Linked DNA regions of Homo sapiens: region 1 is linked to region 2. The links are contacts of gene promoters, found by promoter capture Hi-C in blood cells and fetal thymus (Javierre and others, 2016). All regions are on one chromosome and are shown on one strand. The core of a region is centred on a gene start or on the middle of the fragment in contact, and the rest is flanking DNA. Distances in the headings are between cores, read along the strand shown.

Region 1 (6,467 bases), core at 620-3,119, 35 kb before region 2:
GTTGGAGGGAAATTTCTTAATGGTGTTTCACTTGCTGCCCCCATTTCCTTTCCTTTAGTCTTATGCAAGATCTACTGCAGTCATGTCTATGGTTGGATACATAATTGGCCTTGGAGACAGACATCTGGATAATGTTCTTATAGATATGACGACTGGAGAAGTTGTTCACATAGATTACAATGTTTGCTTTGAAAAAGGTAATATAAAAGTAGACTTTACATTTATGAGGGCCAAATGTTTTTTGGTGAAAGGGCAAAAATATAATGATTTGTCTTTTCAAGGTAAAAGCCTTAGAGTTCCTGAGAAAGTACCTTTTCGAATGACACAAAACATTGAAACAGCACTGGGTGTAACTGGAGTAGAAGGTGTATTTAGGCTTTCATGTGAGCAGGTATGCTGTTTTCTCTTCTCCCTTTTAGTGTATTTGTTAAATGAGCAAAACCTGTGGAATGAAAACCACACTTTAGTGATGAAACTTGTGGCAGACCTTATTTTAAAAACTCTCCTGAAAACAGGTTTTACACATTATGCGGCGTGGCAGAGAGACCCTGCTGACGCTGCTGGAGGCCTTTGTGTACGACCCTCTGGTGGACTGGACAGCAGGAGGCGAGGCTGGGTTTGCTGGTGCTGTCTATGGTGGAGGTGGCCAGCAGGCCGAGAGCAAGCAGAGCAAGAGAGAGATGGAGCGAGAGATCACCCGCAGCCTGTTTTCTTCTAGAGTAGCTGAGATTAAGGTGAAGCCCAGTGACGGAATAAGTCATTGTCTTCTTTTTATTAATAGAGTAAACATGCTCATCAAAATGTTGAGGCAAATTGTTTCTCTAATTTTTTTGGCAAAACTAATGTATAATATTGAAATGGCAGTTAAATATGGCAGTTTGATGTTAACTTTTTATTAGGTAATTCTTCCACACAAACATGCACAGTTACATTCCACACTCCTAAGAGGTGGGTTCATGATTTGAAAAAATTATATTTCTTAATTATTGAAATGTGTTTACCAGTGATGACTGTAAATGTTCTTTAATTGGATAGCTTCCCTTCCCTATCTGGTAGCCAGGGATGCCAGTCTTGTTCTGGGTGACATTGGCAACTATTAATACATGGTATTATGAGATTGAGCCTGTCAGTTTATGCCTGTGTAAACTTGAACGCATTAGTTGTTTTTGTACAGTGGAGGCAACGCATCACCCCTTTCGGGTTTTGTAGAGATTTAAGTAGGATGTGCAAAATGTTCTTCTGACACTGTTGTGTCTCAAAATTGGCCCTGTAAGAGTCTTCTTAATCGTAATATCTTTTTACAGGTGAACTGGTTTAAGAATAGAGATGAGATGCTGGTTGTGCTTCCCAAGTTGGACGGTAGCTTAGATGAATACCTAAGCTTGCAAGAGCAACTGACAGATGTGGAAAAACTGCAGGGCAAACTACTGGAGGAAATAGAGTTTCTAGAAGGAGCTGAAGGGGTGGATCATCCTTCTCATACTCTGCAACACAGGTTTAAAACAGTGTTGAATTCTTCTAAATATGTGCCATTAATTAGAATTTTCATATTCATGTAAACATCAATATGGATTAGAATTATTGTAACAAATCACATAAATGATAAAAGCTGTCTCAGTGACTGCAACTTCAAAGTGTTAGTAAACAAAAATTCACTGAAATTGTCTGCTTTTATTATATTTAACTTAAATGTTTGAATGACTAATTATGGGAGATAGGTGGGTGTAGTGGTTAGAACACAAAACTTGGAATCAGAAAATCTGGGTTTTGGTTTTCTCATTACCATTATGTATCTTGAGTCCTTACTCATTTGTACAATGGCAGCTACTTCATCTACCTCACTAAGTATTAAATAAGATGATTAACTGAAAGAACCTTATACACAGCAGGTGCTCAGTAAAAGGGTAGTTGAATATGAAAGTGTCAAGCATTGTGTGAGGCTCTCAGATTACAAAGATCTGTCAAGCATCAGTCTCTAACCTTCAAGGAACCTAAAACTTGGCAGATGTGGCAGTTTTAATTAAAATGTCATGAGCATGGTTGAGGGAATCACAGGGTCAGGAAAAACAGAGAAGTAAGGGACATTTGAGGAGGGCCCTCAAGGTGAACAAGGAGCGTACCAGACAGTCCATGTGTGAGCACATTCCAGGGTAGGAAAGTATGTGGAAGAAAACAGCAATAAATCTTTTGATTTTGTTTGTGTCCCCCTGATTAGGTATTCTGAGCACACCCAACTACAGACTCAGCAAAGAGCTGTTCAGGAAGCAATCCAGGTGAAGCTGAATGAATTTGAACAATGGATAACACATTATCAGGCTGCATTCAATAATTTAGAAGCAACACAGCTTGCAAGCTTGCTTCAAGAGATAAGCACACAAATGGACCTTGGTATGGGTTGACTTATTTTAGATTCACATGTGAAACTATGAGTTTTATAGTCATGTGTGTTTGTGTGGGGTCCTGGTTTGTGCTTGCTTTTAGTGACAGCTGACTTGACCCTGTTTTACTGTGTTTAATAATGTCTTTTACCAAAAGGTCCTCCAAGTTACGTGCCAGCAACAGCCTTTCTGCAGAATGCTGGTCAGGCCCACTTGATTAGCCAGTGCGAGCAGCTGGAGGGGGAGGTTGGTGCTCTCCTGCAGCAGAGGCGCTCCGTGCTCCGTGGCTGTCTGGAGCAACTGCATCACTATGCAACCGTGGCCCTGCAGTATCCGAAGGCCATATTTCAGAAACATCGAATTGAACAGTGGAAGACCTGGATGGAAGAGCTCATCTGTAACACCACAGTAGAGCGTTGTCAAGAGCTCTATAGGAAGTAAGTTGATAGTGCTTAATTTTCTTTTATTTTTGAGACGGAGTCTTGTTCTGTCACCCAGGCTGGAGTGTGGTGGCATGATCTTGGCTCACTGCAACCTCCGTCTCTGAGGTTCAAGCAATTCCTCTGCCTCAGCCTCCAGAGTAGCTGGGACTACAACACCACCAAGCCCGGCTAATTTTTGTCTTTTTAGTACAGACGGGGTTTCACTATATTGGCCAGGCTGGTCTTGAACTCCTGACCACGTGATCTGCCTGCCTGGGCCTCCCAAATTTCTGGGATTACAGGCGTGAGCCACTGCGCCTGGCCAATTGTATTTCTTATTGGGAGTGGAAGCAAAGTTGTATTCTGCAGCCTTGACCTCCCTGGGCTCAGGTGATCCTCCCACTTCAGCCTCCCAAGTAGCTGGGACCACGGGCGTGTGTCACCACGCCTGAACAATTTTTATATTTTTTTGTAGAGATGGAGTTTCGCCGTGTTGCCCAGGCTGGTCTCGAACTCCTGAGCTCAAGCGATCCTCCTGCCTTGGCCTCCCAAAGTGCTAGGATTACAGGTATGAGCCGTGGTGCCTGGCCTCAAATGTTGATTCTGTCACAGTCATCAACAAGTCCTTTTAGGAAATTGCTTAAGCTCTTGAGACATTTTTATCTGTAAAATGTAAATAATGATTTCTACTCTTCAAGTTTTGTTTGAGGATTAAATGCAATATTCTTTTGTATGTTGGGGGTGGTTGTGTTATAAACAAGCACCTCTTCCTTATTTTTATAGATATGAAATGCAATATGCTCCCCAGCCACCCCCAACAGTGTGTCAGTTCATCACTGCCACTGAAATGACCCTGCAGCGATACGCAGCAGACATCAACAGCAGACTTATTAGACAAGTGGAACGCTTGAAACAGGAAGCTGTCACTGTGCCAGTTTGTGAAGATCAGTTGAAAGAAATTGAACGTTGCATTAAAGTTTTCCTTCATGAGAATGGAGAAGAAGGATCTTTGAGTCTAGCAAGTGTTATTATTTCTGCCCTTTGTACCCTTACAAGGTAAGTTAGCCAACTTCATATTGGACCATTTCCTGTGTCTTATTTTTAATCCCAAACCTAAAATGTTCTTTTACTTTCCTTAGTCTTGCCAAGTGTTACAGCTGCTTACTTGCTTTTCAGATTTTAGTTATCTTGGTTGTGTTTTGAGACAGGGTCTCACTCTTGACACTGAGGCTGGAGTGCAGTGGCACGATCTCGGCTCACAGCAACCTCAGCCTCCTTAATAGCTGGGACTACAGGTGTGTGCCACCACACCTGGCTAATTTTTGTATTTTTTGGTAGAGATGGGGTTTTGCCATATTGATCAGGCTGGTCTCGAACTCCTGGCCTGAAGTCATCTACCTGCCTCGGCCTCCCAAAATGCTGGAATTACAGGCATGGCCTTGACCCGGCCAGTTACCTTGTTTTGTTTATACATTTAAGTTTCACTGTACAGATATTTATCTCTTGTAGGCGTAACCTGATGATGGAAGGTGCAGCGTCAAGTGCTGGAGAACAGCTGGTTGATCTGACTTCTCGGGATGGAGCCTGGTTCTTGGAGGAACTCTGCAGTATGAGCGGAAACGTCACCTGCTTGGTTCAGTTACTGAAGCAGTGCCACCTGGTGCCACAGGACTTAGATATCCCGAACCCCATGGAAGCGTCTGAGACAGTTCACTTAGCCAATGGAGTGTATACCTCACTTCAGGTGAACACTTTTATTTTAAATATTAGTTTGTTTTAGATACTGAATATTGTCTTTCTCATCTCTTTAACCCAGGAAAGCAATTTGACTTCCCCATTTGAATGTTGCTCAACCAGTCATTTAAAAGGAAGATAATTGTGAGATTTATAGCTATAACTTGGTTACAGTTGCTCTTTGTTTTTTTGAATTTTTATAGCAGCTTTATTTGTAATAGTCAAAAACTGGAATCAAGTCAAGTGTTCATCAAGCAAATGGACAAATATGGTACATCCACATAATGGAATACTTCTTAGCAATAAAAGTGAACGACACCTTGATAACATACAGCCACATGTATGACTTACAATAATTATGCTGAGTAAAGAAAGCTAGACATTTCTACCCCTATAAATGGAGAGTGTATAATATGAGAAAAAGCAGATCAGTGTTTACTTGGAGATGGAGGAGGTGGTATGGAGAAGTGTGAGTGAGAGAGATTAAGAAGTCAGGAGGAAATTTGTAGGGTAGTCGGTATGCTGATTTTCTTGATTGTGGTGACAGTTTCATGAGTGTATGCAAGTACCAAAGTATAACAAATTATATATTTTAAACATGCAGTTTATTATATGCAAATTATACCTTGATAAGACTTTTTTTTTTTGAAGGGAAATAGAAGCCACTTATAACCAAACCAAAAAGAGAATAACAATGCTAATATCACTACAGAAATATGATTCCTAAAAATTAATAACATTATATAACATACTTTAGGGCAGTTCTTTTTGTTCTTAAGGTACATCATCCTAGGAATGTTTAATTATATGACAACTTTTTAAAGTCATTTGAAATAGTTCCTGAAAAATTTCACATGACTATGAAATAGAATTTGAAAAGAAAATATTTAAAAGTAGAAATAAAAAGTAAACAAAAGATGTACTTACATGAATGAGTTGATGGCATAGTTACATAAGTTTGCTCTTAATGTATGGCTCTAAGTCTCCAAATGTGTAACTTAGCTAAACTCAAAAAACATTAAAAGTTTTTTTCTCATATATTTATAGGAATTGAATTCGAATTTCCGGCAAATCATATTTCCAGAAGCACTTCGATGTTTAATGAAAGGGGAATACACGTTAGAAAGTATGCTGCATGAACTGGACGGTCTTATTGAGCAGACCACCGATGGCGTTCCCCTGCAGACTCTAGTGGAATCTCTTCAGGCCTACTTAAGAAACGCAGCTATGGGACTGGAAGAAGAAACACATGCTCATTACATCGATGTTGCCAGGCAAGTGAATGCTGGCTGTGCCGTTTCCTTGTAAAAGAGATGGGACAGCCAGAGAAAGGGATTCTGAGCTCTTTAACGTAAGTTTACTTTTAGTTTTTAGAGCAGGTATAATTACTTATAAATGCTCATACACGTATCTTTTTAAAACTTTTTTATTTTGAAATAATTATACATCACGAGAAGTTGCTTAAAAAAAAAGTGCAGGCAGGTATTGTGCATGCTTCATCCTTCCTTCAGTGTTAGTATCTATAGTAACACTATGAAACCGACAATGATATAGTCCACACCGCTTACTCAGATTTCACTAGTTATACATGCACTTATTTGTGTGTGTGTGTGTGTGTGTGTGTGTGTGTGCAAGTGTATAGTTCGGTCACATACATACATATATCCTTTTAGTGCTTGTAGTTATGTACATGTACATACACACAGTCGAACATGATATTTTTAAGCCATCTTGTAGAACCCCTTGGAGACACCTGAAACAGTTTATTTAGCTAACAGAGTACACACCTCATTTCAGGTGAATACTTTTAAATTAGTTTAAATATTGTAAGTTTGTTTTAGCTAATTGGATATTGTATTTTTCATCTCATTAGTCCAGAAAAGCAATCTGACTTTGGAATCTGTAGAGTTTGGGCAGTTCCTGCAGACATGCA
Region 2 (6,373 bases), core at 828-3,327:
GTCAACTGGCTGTATCCTGCCTTTACAACTTCTTTACCCCAACATTCTCCAAAGTGGCACTTTATTGAACAGTCAGCTTCCCTTGCAAAGACTTTTTTTCAAGTGCTTCTCCCTGATTCAGATACTTCACTCCCCTTTCCCCGAAAGACCCACAGCAAATTGACACCCTTCCATGAAATTCACAATGCTCCTGCCCTTGCCCAGCTCTCTTAGGGGCAGTATGTGGTCTGCAGCTATGTTCTCTCACATTTATGACTTCCTTGAACATTTAAGAACCTGGTGGTTACTTAAGGAACATTTTAAAAATAAATTTAAATTCAATGGCCGAATACAAATGACCATGAGATTGGAAGTTAAAACCTGTAAAAAAGATAAAAGGTTGGAAGTTAAAACTATAGTTAATTCACCTGAAACAAACATCTGATCCGGACATTTGGCATGATTCTGTTTGTATCAAACGATGAAAAATCGGCCGGGCGCGGTGGCTACTGCACTACAGCCTGGGCAACAGAGCCAGGCTGTGTCTCAAGAAAAAAAGAAAAAAAAAAAAAAAAAAAAAAAAAAAAGATCAAAGCACTTGTTACTGCATTTGAAATCCTGGATAGAAAAGATGTACAAGTGCCTCAACACAGTTCCTAAACTGCCTAGGAATTCTACTGCTTGTGAGAGGGTTTACATATTTTCTTAGCTTGACCTCTAATGGAAGAAAGGTCGTGTCAAGAACTATCCTTTTGGCCGGGCGCGGTAGCTCACGCCTGTAATCCCAGCACTTTGGCAGGCTAAGGCGGGCGGATATCTTGAGGTCAGGAGGTCCAGACCACCCTGGCCAAAATAGCGAAACCCCGTCTCTATTAAAATACAAAAATTAGCCGGGCGTAGTGACGGGCGTCTGTAATTCCAGCTACTCGGGAGGCTGACGCGCCAGGATCACTTGAACCCGGGAGATGGAGGTTACAGTGAGCAGAGATCGCGCCACTGCACTTCAGCCGGGGCCACGGAGCGCGAGACTCCTTCGTCTCAAACAAACAAACAAACAATTCTGGCCGGGCGCGGTGGCTCACGCCTGTAATCCTAGCACTTTGGGAGGCCGAGGCGGGCGGATCACGAGGTCAGGAGATCGAGACCATCCTAACACGGTGAAACTACGTCTCTACTAAAAATACAAAAAATTAGCCAGGCGTGTTGGCGGACGCCTGTAGTCCCAGCTACTTGGAAGGCTGAGGCAGGACAATGGCGTGAACCCGGGAGGCAGAGCTTGCAGTGAGCAAGATCGCGCCACTGCACTCCAGGCTGGGCAACATAGCGAGACTCCGTCTCAAAAAAAAAGAAAAAAAAAAAAAGAATCCTTTTGGAGAGGGAGCTTGTAGTTTAAGTAACTTAAACATCCACGTATAATAAAGCCACTTAGAAGGCGGTGCATTTTCACACGTTCTCAAACCAGGCCTGGGTTTTTCCGCGCAAGCTAAGGCCTCATTCCTACTGGGTAGGAGAGAAACATTGCAGCAAAATCCACACAAAGAGCTCTTTTCACTTGTCCTCAAAACCTCACGGGTCGCAAATCCGGGCTAAACGGCTCAGGGGCCTGGCTGGGGAACTGGGCCGAAGGTGGAACGGATCCCAGCCACCTCGGGGCCAGGAAAAGATGAAGTGTCGCAGGCCCGGCGTCCCCGCCCTCCGCCTGAGGCAACGGAGCATCTCTCTTCGAGTAGCCCATTTTCCAGAGAGTCTCCTCGGCTGCGAAAGCCAGACGAAGAGGGACCCAAAGCCACCGCAGCGGCAAGAGCCGGAGAACCACTGAGGGACAGCGCCCCCTGCAGAGGCGGTTGAACCGCTTCCCACAGCGCTGGGCGGGGCGTCGCGCAGTCCCTGGGCGCTGATTGGGCACTCCGTGTCCCCTCCCCCTCGGCCCGGCGCTGCCTCTGTCTCCTTTGACCTCGATTTCAAGCCATGCGCTGAGCTTCGGTTGGCCCGGCTTCCTTGAGGCGTAAGCTCGGTCTGTCCAATGAGGAGCGAGCGTCGCGGGGGCCGTCGGGAAGGGCGGCCGACCCATATAAGCAGCCTGCGGGGCGTTCCCTCGGGTTGTGGTTGGTGTGCGGGTTTCGGTTGGAGGACTCGTTGGGGAGGTGGCCTGCGCTTGTAGAGACTGCATCCCCGAGACGATGGCGGAGGGAGATAATCGCAGCACCAACCTGCTGGTGAGTCCTGGCTGCCTGTCCCCCGGGAGCCGAGCGAGGCCTCCAGACGTCCGTGGGCTCAAACACCGCGGCCTCGTCCCTGTCACCCGCCGCGGGCCCGGCCCTTCTCTCCCTGGGCAGGCGACGATGCCTGGCCCTCGGGCTTCTTGGGTGACTCCTGGGTGTCGAACCCTTACCTTTCCTGGGGACGGTGCGCGACGGGGCGAGGAGGGCGCGTGATTCATCACCGCGAGTAGGAGTCGAGGAGGAAGTGGGAGGCAGAGGGGCTGCGACACTAGCCTGGGGTGCGGGTGGGGGCAGAAGGCCTCCTGGGGCCTGTCCAGCGCTTTCGCGGCTCAGGCCCCAGCCGTATTCGGCTTTCCCCGTCTTTGATCTTAACCTGGATGTGCCTGCCTTCTTTTCCCCCTAAAACTTGGACAAGGGTGGAGGGTCAAAGGGCTACTGCCCAGAATTTATCTTAGAGCTGGTACAACTTAAAACGACAGGGAGGCTGCGAGCTCACCGTGGGGAACCGGGAGCGGGGTCCAGCTGAACAGACAATGGGATGTCTTGGCGTTTGTCTGGAATTTGGAAGTCTGGCGGGGGTGGGGTCACAGGACTACTGGAAACAGCTTTAGAGTAATAAGCAGGGATCCGAAGGAACTGCAGTGAGATGGTATCATAGGCGGACACATTTTTATTTGTTATGAATTTAAGCGCACCTTGTGGGCAAAAAACAAGAGAAATATCCTTGCATATTCTCAGTTGCCCTTCCCTGGTGACTGTAGGTCACATACCAGCAATGAAAAACGGAACCAAAGAATTTACTTAGGGGCTTTTGAACTTCCAAGACCCCAGACGCTGGCCAATGACGTGACTTCAGGGCAGTTTTGATTGTGCGTGATTTTATATTTGCTTTTAGAAATGCATGGTTTGTTCCTTTAAACACACGCTCCTTCTAGCATAGTTAGTTCTCAGCGTGGATCTTTTTAAGAGGATTAATTGAAGCACAGAGAAGTAGCTCAAGCCCTGTTGAAATGACAAATCCTGGGCTAGAGCTCCTGCTTCCCAACTCTCCTTCCAGCAGAGCAATATAACTCTAAGGAAAGCAACGCCTTTGGTCGTGGATTTCTTGGATGCAGATCAGTTAACCTCTGTATCTGTTTCCTCCTTGGTAAAATGGGGACAGTAATAACACCTTTTTTTAAGGGTTGTTAGGAAGATTAATTGAAGTATAAATATGAATGCTCAGCAGAGTGCCCACACATAGTAGTCTCTTTCACTAGTATTAAGCATGGAATATAAAGTCAGAAATATTGAGATCACACTAGTGCTCAGCGTGGCACAGATAGCGAGCGTCTTTGTTAAGATTAAGTGCCTTGTTCTGTCATTTGCATGATTTCCAGTGAATGACTTTTACAAAGAGACAAGGTCTCAGCCCAGGCTGGTCCCGATCTCCTGGGCTCAAGCAATCCCCCCCGACCCGCCAAGTGCTGGGTTTACAGGCGTGATCCACTGCATCCAGCCTGATAACATAGAGACACTTGAGTTTCTTATTCTAAATTTTTCTTCCTTTACCAAAACCAGCTTTAAGGGCTTTTGCCACATTAGCTCATCCTAGAGGCCCACTTTCGGCTGTTCAGAGTCAGAGAAATTTGAAGTATAATCAAAATGACATCCTGAGTGGTAAGAAACACTGTATTGAGGAGGTATATTGACCGTAAAATGCCACCTTAATTTGGTGAAAGTAGTTTTCCTTAATTGTCCAATGAATGTCAACATCTGAGTGATTCCATTACACAAAGAGCTATTTTAGAAATTGAATGCTATTCAGGGAAAGTCTTTCCTAATGGATTTAGAAGGGTTTAAATCAATAAGATGACAAAAACAACGGATCAATTCTAACCATCTGAAATAAACAAACTTAAAAAAAGTTATTTCATTTTATTAATACTCTGGGCACTGCCACGATTCCCCGCATGACTTTGAGAAAGTAAACCATTTTGAGCTCACTTTCTTTAATTGTAAATTGAGTCTAATTATCCCTACCTTGTGGCTCTCTGTAAGGATTAAGTTACATCATGTATATAAAGAATAGCCCAGTGCTTGGACTAGAAAAGTGACCATTAAAGGATATTTAGGCTGGGCCTGGTGGCTCACACCTGTAATCCCAGCACTTTGGGAAGACGAGGTGAGTGGATCACTTGAGGTCCAGAGTTTGAGACCAGCCTGGCCAACATGGTGAAACCCTGTCTCTACAAAAAATTAGTCGGGCGTGGTGGCGGGCGCCTATAGTCCCAACTACTCAGGAGTATGAGGTAGGAGAATCGCTTGAACCCAGGAGGCGGAGGCTGCAGTGAGCCGAGATCTCCCCACTGCACTCCAGCCTGGGTGACAGAGCGAGACTCCGTCTCAAAAAAAAAAACACAAAAAACAAAAAAACCCATTGTATTTTCATCTTTGAAATTGCAGTTTTTCAGAAACCAACTAGTTTAAAATTGGCAATTTGGTTAAGAGGTTATTTTTTGTATTTGGAGCTTTAAAATAATTGAAGTCTATGAACCACAAAAATGTTGAGAGTGGTAAAATGATCACTTTAAATGTCGGTGGTATTTAGGCTGCAGAGACTGCAAGTCTGGAAGAACAGCTGCAAGGATGGGGAGAAGTGATGCTGATGGCTGATAAAGTCCTCCGATGGGAAAGAGCCTGGTTTCCACCTGCCATCATGGGTGTGGTTTCTTTGGTGTTTCTGTAAGTGAGCTATTAGATTACTATGGGTTGTGCTTCTTATTAATAAAGACTTTTTAATATATAGCTTCTGTTTGTGGGAGTGCCTTAAGTCTTCTGTAATATATAACCCATAAAGAACCCATAAAGAATGTTTCTCATAAGCACTTCTAGTTTCCAGAATTTGTAGTACTTCTGTAAACTTGGTAACCTAAAGCACTTGAGTAAATCAGTGACTCGCAAACTTTTTGTCCTCCAGACACTTAAACTCTTTTTTTGTTATTATACTTTAAGTTCTGGGAAACATGTGTAGAATGTACAGGTTTGTTACATAGGTATATATACATGTGCCATGGTGGTTTGCTGCACCCATCAACCCTTCATCTACATTAGGTATTTCTCCTAATGCTATCCCTCCCCTAGTCCCCCACCTCCCTAAACTCTTAAAAAAGTGCTGAGAACTCCAAAGAGCTTTTGTCCATTGATATATACTTAACCACTGCAGCTATGATATCAGCATGTCACAAAGCCTCTGGAAAGCCACTTGTGAGAAAATTAGAAGAAAAATGGCAAATATCTCTGAGAGGCGGTGAATAGTTAAGTGAATAGTTAAGTTAGACATGTTTAGTTAGGAATAATAATGACTATGTTTTTCTAACCTTTATTAATTTTTTTAACAGGATTATCTACTATCTAGATCCATCTGTTCTGTCCGGCGTTTCCTGTTTTGTTATGTTTTTGTGCTTGGCTGACTACCTTGTTCCCATTCTAGCGCCTAGAATTTTTGGCTCCAATAAATGGTAGGTAGCATAATGATTTGGCAGTCTCATTTTTGTGTAGTTACTGAACTTGGTGGCTGTGATTAGTATGCTGTAAATAAGCAGAGATAATTGTCTAACCATCAGACACCTAAGCATTAGATTTATTGCTTTTATGTGAAGAATATTGTAACTGATTTGAATATAAACTATGAATTTTCTGTACTCCATAGTTCTTTTATGGTAAATGCACATATACATTTTTACATTTCCATTGATATTTAGGATAGTATAATAACTTCACAAATTATTTTTGAATGAATACAGAAAAGGAAACTGGCAGATTTTCATTCACATTCATTTAGCAATTATTTATTAAATGCCTACTGTGGCAGGCCCTGTAAAGTACTGTGAAATATTTTGACTTTTAAGATTGATCTTGTGTTAAGGCTGAGATACTGAGACACTGAGGCAGTGGAATGGCAGTTAACAAAGTGAATACCAAGTGTTTCCGAAGAGGTTCAAGCTGTATACACATGGGTTGCTGATTTTATTTATACCATTCTCTTTTTTTTTTTTTTTTTTGAGATGGAGGCTCGCTCTGTTGCCCAGGCTGGAGTGCAGTACGCTCTTGGCTCACTGCATGCTCCACCTCCCAGGTTCATGCCATTCTCTTGCCTCAGCCTCCCGAGTAGCTGGGACTACAGGTGCCCA

The links. The method cuts DNA at HindIII sites, captures the fragments that hold promoters and counts their contacts. A CHiCAGO score of 5 or more calls a contact.
Region 1: a contact is called between a fragment that was not itself captured here and the fragment with the promoter of ARL6IP1 in region 2, in 1 of 17 cell types (activated CD4 T cells). The highest score is 6.5, in activated CD4 T cells.

What each region holds. Positions count from the first base shown.
Region 1 is chr16:18,832,281-18,838,747 of GRCh38, reverse strand. SMG1 (SMG1 nonsense mediated mRNA decay associated PI3K related kinase) reads left to right here. Exons shown (of 63, transcript NM_015092.5): 43 at 59-197; 44 at 282-391; 45 at 516-734; 46 at 1,305-1,495; 47 at 2,216-2,388; 48 at 2,536-2,815; 49 at 3,584-3,856; 50 at 4,310-4,544; 51 at 5,582-5,808. Among named protein-coding and RNA genes, the nearest start is that of ARL6IP1, 34 kb to the right of the region's middle. The HindIII fragment of the contact is 972 bases long and covers 1,384-2,355 here.
Region 2 is chr16:18,797,253-18,803,625 of GRCh38, reverse strand. It overlaps ARL6IP1 (ARL6 interacting reticulophagy regulator 1), which reads left to right and starts at 2,077. Exons shown (of 6, transcript NM_015161.3): 1 at 2,077-2,195; 2 at 4,792-4,925; 3 at 5,582-5,701. The coding sequence starts at 2,160. RefSeq lists enhancers at 1,534-1,773, 2,154-2,233, 2,454-2,573. The HindIII fragment of the contact is 8,806 bases long and covers 1-6,373 here.